2 separate regions of the Homo sapiens genome follow, and region 2 is linked to region 1. The links are contacts of gene promoters, found by promoter capture Hi-C in blood cells and fetal thymus (Javierre and others, 2016). All regions are on one chromosome and are shown on one strand. The core of a region is centred on a gene start or on the middle of the fragment in contact, and the rest is flanking DNA. Distances in the headings are between cores, read along the strand shown.

Evidence for each region. Contacts are between HindIII fragments. The CHiCAGO score rates a contact against its expected background, and 5 or more counts as called.
Region 2: a contact is called between a fragment that was not itself captured here and the fragment with the promoter of DEFA6 in region 1, in 1 of 17 cell types (monocytes). The highest score is 5.1, in monocytes.

Annotation. Positions count from the first base shown.
Region 1 is chr8:6,923,309-6,931,115 of GRCh38, reverse strand. It overlaps DEFA6 (defensin alpha 6), which reads left to right and starts at 5,040. Exons shown (of 2, transcript NM_001926.4): 1 at 5,040-5,273; 2 at 6,189-6,419. The coding sequence starts at 5,081. The coding sequence ends at 6,298. RefSeq lists an enhancer at 6,695-7,195. The HindIII fragment of the contact is 287 bases long and covers 4,893-5,179 here.
Region 2 is chr8:6,453,402-6,461,208 of GRCh38, reverse strand. It overlaps MCPH1 (microcephalin 1), which reads right to left. Exons shown (of 14, transcript NM_024596.5): 9 at 5,957-6,066. Among named protein-coding and RNA genes, the nearest start is that of MCPH1, 51 kb to the right of the region's middle. The HindIII fragment of the contact is 3,675 bases long and covers 2,080-5,754 here.

The sequences.
Region 1 (7,807 bases), core at 3,791-6,290:
CTCTTTGTGACACTTTGGGAATAAGGTAAGAGGATTCAGTCCTACTTCGCCAATATTTTGGAGAAGCAGAAGTTTACACACGCAGAAATGCACAAGTCCAACTTCTCGCCAAGACTGTGACAATGCCCTCTGTTCATCTACTGCTGTGTGGAAAGATATCCCAAACATAGTGGACTGAAACAGCACCATCAGGTCTTCACTCATACCTTGGCAATTTGGGCCTGGCTCAGAGGAGAGGTTCTGCTGGGATCTGAGGAGCTCAGGGCTGAGACACTCGCGCACAGGTGGCAGGCAGTGCTGGCTCAGCTGGGAGCTCTCACAGGGCTGAGGGATGGGACCTTGTGATGCGCTGGGGCCAGATCATGCCGGCTCATGAGAAAGGTGGTTTGTGTGACATTTTTTAAACGGTCCAGAGCTGGGAGGATTCTAACCACAGAAATTTACAAACACTGTAAATCAGAGTTTTGGTTTTTCCCAGAAAGCTGGCTGTTCTGTGTTCTCTAGCTCACCCTCGCAGGTGCCCTCAGTTCATCTTCCTGTGCGAGGCTGAGGCTTCCTCAAAACACGGTGTCTGGGCCCCCAAGTGACCAGCCCTCTTAGTCCGTTTGAGCCACTATTTAAAAAAAAATACCATAAACTGAGTTGCTTATGAACAACAGATATATTTTTCAGTGTTCTAGAGGTTGAGAAGTCCAAATCAAGGTGGCAGCAGATTTGGTGTCTGCTGAGAACCAGCTTTTTCGTTCATAGATGGCACCTCCTCACTGTGTCCTCACCTGATGGAAGGAATGAAGGAGCTCCTTGGGATCTCTTCTATAAGGACACTAATCCTATTCATGAGGTGCCCTCCGGACCTACTCACCTCCCCAGAGGCACCACCTGTTAATGCTATCACCTGGTGGTTTAATATTTCAATATATGAATTTCAGAGGGACAAAAATATTCCAACTGCAGCGCCATCCAAGACGGTGAAAGTGAAAAATACCAGTGTCTTAGCACCTGGGCCCAGCAAACGGCATGGTACTAAGTCAGGTGCATTCTATTGGTGAAGATGTCACCCGACCTAGATCCAACAGGAAAGAAGTAAACCTCCCTTTCTGTGGGAGAAGAGTCCAAGAATTGGGACCACATTTTAAAACAGCCCAAGAGAGTTATTCTTTCATAGTCATTTGTAAAAATTGCTGCAGGCAACAACACCAGACACATAGACAGCATGTGAGAGGCGGCTGGGAAAGGCAGACAAAGGGCAGGGGACTTGGAGCTCCTGCCTGTCCCAGCTGGATCTGCAGGCCCGGGAGTTGCTGTGTGGCACAGGCAGCACCAGGACCCTCCCTGCAGGGAGGTGGACAAAAGGCTGAGGGGAGGGACAGGGCGGTGCACTCTCAGGGGCTGGGAGATGGACAGTTCTCAGAGCTCACCCCCACGCAGCCCCCGCTCTACCCCACGCTAACACACACACTCTGTTCCAAAACTGCCCTTCCACACTGGGTCAAAACCATGTCCCAGGGCCCTGCCCAAGGTCCACACTCACTGTGTCTGCTGGGGTCACCAGACAGCCTCAGAGAGTGTGGGAATATCCTTGCTGCTGCTGAAGGCCTTTCTCCTCTCACACCCACACCTGCACCCCCACCTGTAGCTTCCCCAGGATATTTACCCCAGCTTGAGGGTGTCAAGGCTCTTGTTGAGTGTCTGAAAGCTGAACTGCATGTGTATGAAGGAACAGTTTCAGTTGTGTCTACACTCAGAGTTGACACTGGTGGCAAGTCCAGGACACTGTGCTGGGGGCAGGGTGGGTGGGGGTGGAAGTGAAAGTGTTGCAAAGACTTTTACATGTAGCACCATTTTTTGCTTAAACCACTGATTTCTGCCAAGGTTCTGGTGCAGCCCAGAAAGAAAGGTGAAAGGGACCACGAGATACAGACTCACTCTGTTCTAATTGGGGTTTGGGAGCCACCTGGGGGAGACAGAGGCAAGGCCCAGGTGAGACCTCAGCACAGACTGAGAACCTGACCTGCCCTGGCTGTCGAGTCCCCACCACAGACTGGGAAGGAGGCAGGGACAGGAGCATTGCCACCCAGGAGAAAGAGCAGAGGCCCCCAGACTCAGGTCCTCAGCCCCGCAGCCAGCACAAGGGGGAACGACATCATGACACTAGGTTAGAGACGGGGCAGGCCAGCCTTCCAGGGCCAGCAGCTACCGCTGACACGGAACCAGCAGCAGTGTATTCTGTGCCCCCTGAACTAATGTTGTAATATGTACACTTTGGGGTGCAGAAGAAAGCAATGTGTTTGCTGAACAGCACTTTACAGCGCTCCCATTTGAAGTCCCTCTTGGGTCAACTCCTGTTTAAGGGCAGGAGGGCCACCTGCTGTCCTTAAGGTGCTACTGCAGTGCTGCGCGCCCAGTTCTCTGTAAGGGCAGGTTCTTCTTTACTGGAAGATAGTGTGGGCTCTGCTAGGTCAGCGTCTGATGTGTGAGGACATCTCAGGGTGGAGGTATGCTGGAGCCACTGAGGACAACAGAGACAGCCCTTGGCCTAAGTCAACTTCATCTCGGTGGCATCTCCAAGATGCTCGGTTCTTATTAGGGCTTCCATGTGGGAGTGGGGTGGGGTTAACTCAAGAAAGGCAGTTAACAGAGATGAGGTCCTCGTGACTGCGGGTCACGGTAGGGAGGTTACTTCTCTTGCAGGAGCCTGATGGCTAAACAAGGGGGAGATATACCTGCCTCGATTTTGTGCATGATCATTGAAAGCTGGATCCTAGAGTAAATGGGCTCTTCAAAATAGAGCTTGTGCTTCAGTATTTGCATGTATGTGACTCTAGGGGCAGGAAGGTAAGTAGAGAGAGGGAAAGGAACTACGTGAAGTTCCCTTGTCCCTGACACCCTTTGATGTTCTACTGTTCTAGAAGTTCTGTTTACTTCCAGGCGTTCCGTCTGTTGGCGTGGTGATTGTGGTGACTTTACAAGCTGCGATATGGATCCTGATAAGCCTTCCTGCACCCCATCTGTCTAAACATTTACCAATGCCCATGGGGATTGGTCTGCATTATCTTCTATTTCAATTAAAATAGGCTGGGAACACTTCTTAGTTTCCAAAGATAGAGCATACAATTCCAAAATGCTCCTTTAAGTCAAGACAAATTAGATCACTTATTTACAGAAGTATCTTGTCCTGTTAGCTAGATCAGGGTATCTGAGTAACAGCTCCAGGGTAGGATTTCCAGGTGATAGAGTAATTATTGCCTGTCCCATGAACTACTGGGGAAAGAGGCATAGACAGCTATAAGTCACAATGGACAATTACAGTTTGGGTTGGAGAGGGAAAGTTTAATTCGAAATTTAGATGTTAGTTAAATGGTCATCTCCTGCTGGGTAAATGAAGGCAAAATTCAAATAAATACAGAACAAATGCATTTTTAAATGCCCATAGATTCCCTAACAAAACTGAAACAAAAATCAAGAAAACAATTCCATGTACAATAGCATCAAAAAATAAAACACCTAGGAAGAAACAAGGAGGTGAAGGATCTACACACTGAAAATGAAAAAAAAAAAAATAGTGAAAGAAATTAAAGAATGTAAAAATAAATGGAAAGATATCCTGGGCTGAAAATTGGAAGAATTAAGATTGTTAAAATGTCTATCCCAAACAAAACAATATACCGATTCAGCACAATTCCTATCAAAATCCCCATGGCATTCTTTACAGAAATAAAAAAAAAAATCCTAAAATTTGTATGAAATGGTGAAAGAACCCAAATAGACAAAACAATTCTGAGAAAAAAAAACAAAGTTGAAGACATCACAATTCCTGGTTTTAAATTATATTACAAAGCTACGGTAATCAAAACAATATGGTATTGGCATAAAACCAGACACATACCAGTGAAATAAAATTGAGAGTCCAGAAACACATCGAAACACATATGGTCAAGTAACTTTTGACAATGGCATGAAGAAGACACAATAGGGACAGGAGAGTCTCTTCAATAAATGGTGGTGGGAATACTATTTCCATATGCAAAACAATAAAACTGGACCCTTCTCTTTTGGCATATACAAAACTTAACTCAAAATGGATAAAATACCTGAATAGAAGACCAGAAACAAGAGACTATGAAAATAATGGTAGAGTTCTATATGTTTTGAGCTACAAAGTATTCAAATTACAGCATTAGGGAGAAAAAACAAAGCACAAACCAATGTTTAATTTTTAAGTGGAGATTTCCTGGAGCAGAGCTGCAGGGCTGGGGCAAGGATGGAGGCTCATTACTCCTTTTACCCTTTGAATGGTCCTTGTGGGCAATTCAACATTTTCTAAAATTAAAAATAAAATAAAATTTCAGAGGGGGATTGTGGGCATGTCAATTGTTTCGATGTTTCTCAAAGTGGAGAGAAATACCTAGTACATATTTTAGTTGATACATTCAGATCACATGGGTTTCTTGAAATAAATCTTTTGGCTTTAGTTTTACTAACTCTTTACCTAGTATCCCACTGAGTTCTTTTCCCTTATAGGCTGATAAGGTCATTATCTTCTCCACACTGTGCCCCACAAGAGCCTATTCACCCCATAATCTCAAAGCCTCCTTCATGAGGGCAGAAATGCCCCCTGAATCCTGCAATGAATTAACTCTCTACTCTAGCGGGATCCAGCTCTGGCCTCAAGGTCTAGACCTCCAGAGAGTGGCCAGCCCCACCTTCAGAAAATAAGAGGCATTTGATTCCTGAAATTATTCATTGAAAGCACTGTTCTTTTCTTTTTTGAATATTAACAAGTAAATATTCCAGCAGATGGAAAACAGGACAATGTAACACTGTTCTTATCATCACTATCAGCTGGGACCAGAACAGACACTCAATAAACAGCCTCACACTACAATGAAGCTTGGAGAACAAAGGAGCATCAAAGGGACATGGAGGGCAAGGGTAGCTCTTCTGCTCCCCAATCACATGCACTCCCCGTCTCACCGCAACATCTGTCCCTGAGCCTTCTCCCAGCAGACCTATAAATCCAGGCTGGCTCCTCACTCCCCACACATCTGCTCCTGCTCTCTCTCCTCCAGCGACCCTAGCCATGAGAACCCTCACCATCCTCACTGCTGTTCTCCTCGTGGCCCTCCAGGCCAAGGCTGAGCCACTCCAAGCTGAGGATGATCCACTGCAGGCAAAAGCTTATGAGGCTGATGCCCAGGAGCAGCGTGGGGCAAATGACCAGGACTTTGCCGTCTCCTTTGCAGAGGATGCAAGCTCAAGTCTTAGAGCTTTGGGTAAGAGACACCAGCATTGCAGAGCTAGGAGTGTAGAGAGGAAAACCAAGCACTTCTAGAATTAGATCCAACAGCTGGCTCTTTCTCTTAGGTGATCACCTCCCCAGGCCTCAATTACTTTATGTTTGTACTGAAAAGGAAGAATCAGTGATATTCAAGGCATGACTTTTCTCTAAAGATTTTTTAATTCTATGATAAGTCTATGAAATTTTCTAATTTTTTGCCATGTAGAAATGTATTGAGGAGTCTCTACTTCAAGGAAGAGAGCCTAATTTTAAAGGAATGTTTTGTTTTGCTTTGTTTTGTTTTGTTTTGTTTGATGGAGTCTCGCTCTGTCACCCAGGCTGGAGTGCAGTGGCACTATCTCAGATCACTGCAACCTCTGCCTCCTGGGTTCACGCAATTCTCTCCCTCAGCCTCCCAAGTCACTAGGATTACAGGCACCAGACACCAAGCCTGGCTAAATTTTGTATTTTTTTTTTTTTCAGTAGAGACGGGGTTTCACCATCTTGGCCAGGCTAGTCTTGAACTCCTGACCTTGTGATAAACCCACCTTGGCCTCCCAAAGTGCTGGGATTACAGGCGTAAGCCACCACATCCAGCTGCTAAAGGAATGTTTTTTAATCTGACTTTTATAGGAACCGTTGCAAACTGGAGACAGTCATATGGGTGCATTCAGATGTGTGTGTGACAGGGAAGGAGCAGATAAGTACAGCATATCAGAATGGCTCTCTAATCCTGTGTGTGACCAACACTGCTCTGCGTATTTATTCCTATTGATGGTGTGATCATGCTATTGGCTGTAATGCAGCCAGCATTACATGTCAGCAAGCATGCAACTTCCTGAAGATTCTCTTTACTGCCCGCTGCTGACCCTGGTGCTCAATTTCTGATGCTCTCTCTCTCTGTCCCCAGGCTCAACAAGGGCTTTCACTTGCCATTGCAGAAGGTCCTGTTATTCAACAGAATATTCCTATGGGACCTGCACTGTCATGGGTATTAACCACAGATTCTGCTGCCTCTGAGGGATGAGAACAGAGAGAAATATATTCATAATTTACTTTATGACCTAGAAGGAAACTGTCGTGTGTCCTATACATTGCCATCAACTTTGTTTCCTCATCTCAAATAAAGTCCTTTCAGCAAGTTCTTTTGTGTTTGTGCTTTTCTGGTGTTTGATAATTCAGGATTCTTCAGATGCAAAAACAAAAACCCAAGTCGTATCTCAGAACACTAGCTCTTCGAAAGAGTTTTCTATGTAGACCAGAGAAGTGGTAGAGAGGATGTTGAGAGAAGAGAGGATTTGGGTTTTTTGTTTTTTTGTTTTTTGCTTTCTGAGATGGAGTCTCGCTCTGTTGCCCAGGCTGCAGTGCAGTGGCACAATCTTGGCTCACTGAAACCTCTACCTCCTGGGTTCAAGTGATTCTCCTGCCTCAGCCTCCCAAGTAGCTGGGATTACAGGTATCCACCACCACGCCAAGTAATTTTTGTATTTTTAGTAGAGACAGGGTTTCACTATGTTGACCAGGCTGGTCTCGAACTCCTGACCTCAAGTGATCCGCCCACCTCGGCCTCCCAAAGTGCTGGGATTACAGGCATGAGCCACCGCACGTGGCCTTAGGCACTCTGTTTTAATGTTAATGCTGGCCAGCTGTGCCTGAATTCCAATGGGAGGAGGATATCATGAGGTATTCCTGATCCCCACGTCCCATCATGGCCTGAACCAGTGTTTGAGGTTAACACTAGAATGCCTTGGGCTGAGAGGAGGCGTCCATTCAGTTGGCTGGAGGGCTTAGAATTTTAATCTTGGTTTGAATGGGATACAAACATAGGAGGAAGGAACGTGGGGTCCTGGCCCTTCCGACTCTGGCCAGAACCTTGCCAACCACATGTCCACAAGAACACAGGCCCTCTCTCTTTGCCTTGTCCCTTGTCACTATGTCCAGAGACAAGAGGGTGACAACAGTCCTGGGTATAACAACAACCCTGACATTCATCCAGAGGTCTGGCCAGACTCCCAGTTCTTCTGCCCTTCTGCTGGGTCTTCTTACCTCTTTGTAGGAGAGACCATGTTAAAGTGGCCTATTTTCCAGTTCTCTAAAACACAGACAGAAGACGTGGAGGGAAAGGTTCTCCAAGGCAGGTCTGAACGAGGAGAAACATGGAGTCACAAAACCCATTTCCAAGCCTGACTTTGCCACTTTCTACCTGAATGGACTTGACAAACCCAGCACGAAAATGGAGGCTTCATTTCCTCCTCCATAACCTTGTGGCAGCTGTCTCAAAACTTGACTATGGGACCTAACAGGATTCTTCATAACGGTGGTCAGAGACTTAGACATCAAAGGTGGGGAATAAATAACACAGTCAGATAGGAAGGGTGGGGGGGTGACCTAGCAAGTGGGGGTGACCTAGTGAGTGAGGGGGTGACCTAGCAAATGGGGGGTGACCTAGCAAGCGGGGGGGGTGACTTGACCTAGTAAGGGGGGTGGCCTAGCAAGTGACGGGGTGACCTAGCAAGTGGAGGGTGACCT
Region 2 (7,807 bases), core at 2,668-5,167, 470 kb after region 1:
AAGCTAATGGAAGTTATAGCTCTGAGATTCTATAATTCTTCATGGAATCATGGTTTTTTTCACTCTTTAAGAGAAACTGAATTAATGTCAATTCAGGTGTTTAGTGTGTCTTTTGCAAACTGACCTACGTGTTCATCTCAAAAATCATTTCTCTTGAGTTGGCCTCTTACTGCTGTCTTCTCAGAGAAGCATTCACACCAAAACTCTATTTAGAAAAGTTAAGTGGCCGTTAAAATTCACCCATCGTCTCCAGGAATGGTGGACTAAGTAGTTTGAAATAGGCTCCTCACTGTGAGCCCTCAGAAAAGCTGGACAAGATGCAAACAAACAAACAAGCCCCAGCTATTTGCAGACGTTGCCCAGCTACTAAGTCAGTGAGTCATGGAAGAAGAAACCCATGGAAGAGGAGGTGAACCAGAGTCAGAAGCCCACACTCCCAGGGGACAGCTAGCCTCACAGAGACAGAACCCCAGCTCCAGATCATCTCAGTCCCTGCTAGGAAGATAAAGACAAACTAACCAGGCATATTAGATATGGAACGTATGATTGAAAACAACAGATAAGAAAAACAGAAATTGAGGGGAGCCAGAAAAGGGAGTTATTTCAAAAGAAATATGCATAATATGTTCAAATAAATAAAAGATAGGATTAATAATTTTGACAGAGAACTGGAAATGGTTTTTATAAATCAAATAGAGGGCATGAAGGCTCCCGCCTGTAATCCCAGTACCCTGGGAGGACGAGGTAGGAGGATTGTTTGAGACCAGGCGTTCGAGACCAGCCTGGCCAACGTGGAGAGACCCCCATCTCTACAAAAAATAATTAAAAAAAATAAATGGAATAGCAGGGACTGAAAAATAATACATGTTAAAACTCAGTATATGGATTTAGCATCAGAATAGACTTAAAAAGAGTCAAAGGTGAAATGGAAAAGAAACCAATAGAAGACATCCAGAATGAAATAAGGAGATACAAGAGGAAAGAAATAGAGGAAAATCATGAGACATGGGCTATAGAAGCAAAGGATAGCACACGAGATTGCGTTCCCAGCAATGGAGGCGTGAGAAAACAGGCAAAAGAAATCACAGTGGAGAAGTTTCCAGAACAGATCAAAGACAGGACGGCCTGTGACTCTCAAGTAAATAAACAACAAAAACAATACCCTGGTACAACAATCACAATGAACCTACAGAAAACCAAAGATGAGAGCAGTCTAACCCCAGAGCCCGTGGCCGTGGCTGAAGTCAGCCTCTCTCTTCTCGCGGTTCTGCATCCATCCCCGGGCCACACCAAGGCCGTGCTGCTCTTCGCACAGGCTCCAGGCCTTCCCACCTTTCTTGCCTTTGTACCTTCTACCTGGCACCTTCACATTACTCAGAACTCACGACTGACAGCTCTCATCGACTGACAGTCCTGTCTGCAGGGCTGCCCAGATAGGACATTACCTGCAAGTGCTACTTCAGATTTAAAACTAAAAAGAAAATAAAGTCATTAGGGCCACGGGACACATCTGAGTTTCAAATCATTTTCCTCACTACAGAAATAGCATGTAGGCTGGCTCTCAAGTGAAAACATAAAAATGTCAGGCCCAGACCTTACTGTTCTCCATTCTAGTAGAGGCATTGCTTCAGTCATTAGCTGGTGAAAGATATTTCCTGTAAACTCTCCCTTTTTCAACATTAATATTCAATTACAAGATTTTGTTTTCTTTAGGAAATAGAAACAATTTTGTGCTTAATAGAATCTAATACCTTAATATGTCCTTATACATAAAAATATGTGGCGTGCACCTGTAGTCCCAACTACCTGGGAGGCTGAGGCAGCAGAATCGCTTGAACCCGGGAGGCAGAGGTTGCAGTGAGCCAAGACTGTGCCATTGCACTCCAGCCTGGGTGACACAGCGAGACTCCATCTCAAACAAACAAACAAAAAAGGCCGTGTTAAGTTCCAAATTTCAGTTTAACACAGTTTATCTTGAAATCTAACAAGGAACAAAATAAGCAGGTAAAACCTATTTAATGGGAAAAAAAGAATGGTTGAGATACTAACATTATATTTGTAGGCTGCTACTCAGAAGCTTCTAATTTTAATTCACCAATTCAATCCTTCCACAATTCCACTGTATACTTTTAAAACCAGGAAACTAAATTTTAGTGTTTCTGTGGACTCATTACCACATATCAACATAAACTTCTCTCCCCATGCTCATATCAAAAGATCTCAAACTACTGGGAAGTTATATACTTAAAATTTAATGTTGCTGGCTAGGTGCTGTGGCTCACGCCTGTAATTCCAGCACTTTGGGAGGGCCAAGGAAGGCAGATCACTTGAGGTCAGGAGTTCGAGACCAGCCTGGTCAACATGGTGAAACCCCATCTCTACAAAAAACTTAAAAAATTAGCCAGGCGTGCTGGCGGGTGCCTGTGGTTCCAGCTACTAAGGAGGCTGGGGCAGGAGAATCGCTTAAATTCAGGAGGCGGAGGTTGCAGTGAGCCGAGATAACACCAGTACACTCTAGCCTGGGCATCAGAGTGATACTCCATCTCAGAAAAATAAAATAAAATAAAATAAATTTAATGTTACCTTTTAAGAAATTTATATCATTCTTCCTTCTAACCTGTAAAATAATAAAACACGTCCTTCATCTATATTGCTATCAAATTTGCGCTCCTAAAACACTCACTCAACCTTTAAGCAAACAAATCAGGAATTTTTTTTTTTCTTTTTTTTTTTTTTTGAGAAGGAGTCTCACTCTGTTGCCCAGGCTGGAATGCAGTGGCACGATCTCAGCTCACTGCAATCTCCGCCTCCCGGGTTCATGCCATTCTCCTGCCTCAGCCTTCCGAGGAGCTGGGACTACAGGCGCCCGCCACTACGCCCAGCTAATTTTTTGTATTTCTAGTAGAGACGGGGTTTCACCGTCTTAGCCAGGATGGTCTTGATCTCCTGACCTCATGATCTGCCCACCTCAGCCTCCCAAAGCGCTGGGATTACAGGTGTGAGCCACCGCACCCAGCCCGCAAATCAGGACTTTAAGCCTTGGTCTTTAATTTTAGAGTCTAAAAATGAAACAACTTTACATGAGAAATGTTTATAAAGAAATGAAACTTCTTCTAGGATAAATTACTTGTTTAAATTCTAAAAGTCCCAAGGCTGTAGTTTCCAAACTCTGCTTTGCATTAGAATCACCTCAGGAGTTTAAAAAAATCCTAGTGGCCAGGGTGCACCCCATATTAATGACACCAGCATGTCTGGCTTGGGGCCAGGCAGCCACAAACCTTACAGATCCCCAGGTGAGTCCAATGCGCAGCCCAGTCAGGAAGCACTACCCTAGGGCATTAGGAGTTTTTGATTCATTCAAGCAAAGGCTGTGCGGTGAACACTAATAAGGACTGGATTAGGAAGAAAATCCTGCGAAAGAGGGGAAACCTAGGTCTTGCTCCTTCTGCTATTGGCGAGACGCAATACAGAAGGTGGATTCTTCGCCCTCACTAGGTGTTCGTCCCCTCCACGTTAAGGACGGGGTGCCGCACTGGGGTCGGGAGCTGCTGGCCAGGAGGGTCTCAGGTGGGGCCAGAAAATCAGCATTTATTTATTTATTTTTGAGACAGAGTCTCACTCTGTCGCCCAGGCTGGAGTGCAGTGGCATGATCTCGACTCACTGCAACCTCCCCTTCCTGGGTTCAGGTGATTCTCCCACCTCAGTCTCTTGAGCAGCTGGGATTACAGGTGCCCACCACCAGGCCTGGCCAATTTTTGTGTTTTTTGTAGAGACGGGATTTTGCCATGTTGGCCAGGGTTTTGCCATGTTGGCCAGGCTGGTCTCGAACTCCTGACCTCAAGTGATCCGCCCGCCCCAAAGTACCGGGATTATAGGCATGAGCCACCATGACTGGCCCAGAAAATCTGCATTTAAAACCTGCTTTGAGTGATTCTTCACACAGAACCAGAAGTGGTGGATTCGTTTCAGAAATGACATTCTAAATTATGAGGGCAAAGTTTACTAATACTCTTAAAATATTTTTAAAAGAAGACTTAAATTTGAGCAAGTTAGGCAGTTTAATATATGAAAATATTTTTGTTCCTGAGCACAGCAGTTGAAGGCAGATATGGAGGTGTGTATTTGTAATTGTGTATTTTGTCTCCCTCTCTGACCACTCATTCTTTTATCATTACTCAAGACAGTAATACCACCTTATATTTATGGAGCACTTACTATTTGATCTACAGAAGAATGCCAGAAGGTCAAACAGGTACCCATCTCCCATTCATATGCCATTTACAGTGAGATGCCTCATAAGGAAGAAGGGGCCACACTCCCGCCCAGGATGCCTGTCCCTAACCCAGTGCTTCCACAGACCCAGCCCATCAGATTCAGGGCTATCCCAGGCACAGGGAGGCAATACCACTCGTCTGAAACAGTAACTTCCACTGTGGGCAAATGAGAAAGTCAAACCTCATGCCTTTTGATCAGACAGGACGGAGTATTTTTATGGTGAGTAACAAGTAACTCAACACTCAATATTTACTGAGCACTTAAAAAAAAAAAAAGCCAGACATGGTACAACGTAGAGTACCAATAGAGATGAGAGGTACCACGGCTTCCCTGGGCAGACACTGGCAGAGGGTAAAGGGTCAGTAAAGCGGGAGGGCACAGAACAGAGCTGTGGTGCCATGCGACGCATCAGCAGGAGAGGCACGGGAACGGTAGTAGATGCAAAGGAAACTGGTTCTTTATTTCTTTCCAAATGAACTAGGTCAAGCGGCCATGTAGCAGTAGGAAGAAGACTGAGAAACTGGGACGCAAAACACAAACTCAGCCACAGTGTTGCGAGCGTTCTAGGAAGGGCCCCACCCCTGGGAGGCAGCGCGCTGAGCAGGTCCCGCAGGCTGCAGTGGAGTCACAGTGCGCAACGCCATTGTAGAGCAGGTGCCTTGGTGTTGCCCACGCCACAAACATGTTATGGGACCCTGACAGTCTCTCTCTCTCCACATCTGTTGCTTTACCTGAAATAGGGTTCCTTTCCATTTTCTTGCTCCACTTTTTTTTCCGAGACAAACCAGAAAGCATCAGTAAAGAAATCTAAGTTTCTACAAGTTACTGCCAACTTTCATGAAATCTGTGTAATTTTAAATGTCTTTTAACCATTGCCAAGATAAGAAGCAAAGGAGTCAGGTTTCTCTTCCGCAGGTCAAATGCAGCCGCCCATCTGTTCAAGCCTGCGTATCAGGACCTGGAAGCCCCATGCAGACCCATCTACTCTGTCATTCTTTTCATCTGTTGCTTTTCAATCGGTATGGTTTTTCCCTACCATTCTGAATTCAGGTTTCACTACATTATACTTTTTTGGCCTCATAAAAATGAGGCACAAGGTATAATATATATGGCTAATTTTAAATTTAAGCAATGCAAGTAGATATTGAATGATAAAAACATTTAAAATCCTCATTCTATTACTCATGTAAGAGGATCAGCGGAGTCTTTCAGAGGAAGAGCAAGGTTTTAAAGCCAAAACCACAAAGGGAAGGGTGTACCTGAGTGTTAGTATATAAACCTTTCACTCTGATGGCTTGAGGTCAAGACTTGGTTAGTTCAAAAGTGAATGAATGTTTGGATTCTTCACCTCCTACCTAGTAAATATTTATTCCGATTATAAAATGGCAAGAAACACTGGCACAACCAACATTCTCTGCTTGAGAGAAGCTACAGGCATTTTTATAAGAAATGCATTAGCAAAGTGATATGAGAAAGCTTGCTCTATCAATAATAACTCTTTGTCTGGAATGCAAACAACGCTTTCAGTTTCATATTCTGAGTTTTCCAGCATTTACCCATAATCAATTTTTTAGAATAAAAGACAAGTCAGATAGACTGGTTTATGTTTCATTGACCCAGAGAAGAACATTATGATGTATCAGCATTTGAAAGTTTAAAATAATATTTTTACACACTGACCTTTTTGCCTCTCCCACTTTTCTTCAATTCCTCATGAGGTTTGATGAGGTCCTTAAAGCCGTCACATGAGTCATCTAAAACATCATGCCTTGTTGGTCTATTTTTAACACCTAAAACCCAAGGGGATTAAAAATTAGTTAGAACTTTACATGGACCAAATACAACTTAAGCAAAACAAAAATCACATTTATGCATAATGGAAACAGGAAGTTATAGGCCTTTTAAATAAATTGTATATATCTGGCTCTTTGAGATCTATCTAGAACTTTCAGTTTATTACATTCCAATATCCCAAGCAATTCACTTAATTCAATGGTCGGTAACAATCAGGTTACAGTGTTCTACAGCATCAACTCCGTCCATTTGATAATGTAAGAAAATGTATACCCATACCTTACGCACTCGTCAAACTTAAATTCTTAGATTTTAAAATAATGACAAAGAACAGCTCTTCAGAGTAGGCAGTTCCATATTAGAGGCAATAATTAATCTAACTTTTGGGGTCAGTTTGAGATTTTCTAGAAAATAGTCTTCAGTACAGAGCTTCAGGCTTCAACCTACAAATGATGGATGATGATTTTACTCCCCCCAAGTTTCCACCTTAGACCAGCGTCTTGCCATGAAGACACACAAACCAAAAGGATACTCATTCAAGTGAAATGTGGTTTCCTTAGATGCTAACCTCTGTAGACCTAAGTAACCCACGATGAAATGTGAAATGTGTACTTTGATTTGACTCATCTACTGCCTCAGAGGGTGCCTCTTACTCTCACCCTTCCTCCTCCTTCAAACAGTTTGCCTACTTTATGACTTACATGGGATTTTGAAGGAGGAGCTAACATGGACCATAACATGGTCTCAATGGTATAATGCAAACTTTGACGCAAAAGTTATGTAGCAGCCTAGGGGGTACTAGAACCTGCCAGGCAGGTGATAGCCAAACTGCACTGTTGATTACCTAATGATTAACAAATAGCTAATCATCTACCCACTGGAGATGCAAAATGCACAAGATATAGTCCCACACTTAGGGAGCTCACAACCCAATAGACAATGTAGATGCAGATGAATAAATATAATGCAACGTGAAATTAACATCAGTGCCCTCAGAGATTAAAAATCATATAACATGAGAAAGACTTCTTTGCAGATAAAATGCTATAAAGCCAGCTATAACTAAGTTTGGAGAGTCTAAGGTAAAAACTGTCACTCTTTTCAAAAACAGGGTCCTATCTCAGTGAAAAAGGATGTAGAATAAAAATGTTAATACTTTCCTGAATTCAAGCTAGTTGTTATTTGCAGCCTGGGCCCTGGACAGATTTTAAGGTCCAGTTCTAAACCACAAACCTACCAACCTACACTCTTTGCCATAATCCCTAATACTGAATCCACTCGAGACTCAAACCAGTCACATCCTGACTGATCCCGTACCTCCTCAGGTATCTTTTATGGTTGACTTGCACTGACTTTTCTCCCAGGCCCACTTTATCCCCCGGGGTAGAACATGAATGCAATCTCCTATCGTCTTTAAGATTAAAAATAATTAGAATTATTAATTATATCTACTACGCACTTATTTTCCTTTTTAAATAACAAATATTTACTTGAAGCATGAGTGTGTCAAAATCGGAAAAGCAGTGGACTAGAGATATAATTTGGGACGTAGTGCTCTGTTATTGAGTCATGAATAAATTTGCAGCTTCCTAGTGTATTCAATAAAAGTTTTATAATAGCCACTTGCCTCAGTTCTTGCCGAACAACGAAACAGGCTGTAAAGCATTTTATAAACATAAAGTTCTAAGAAATGCAACACAATCTTTTAAAACTTAAGAAAGACTGATATTAAAAAAA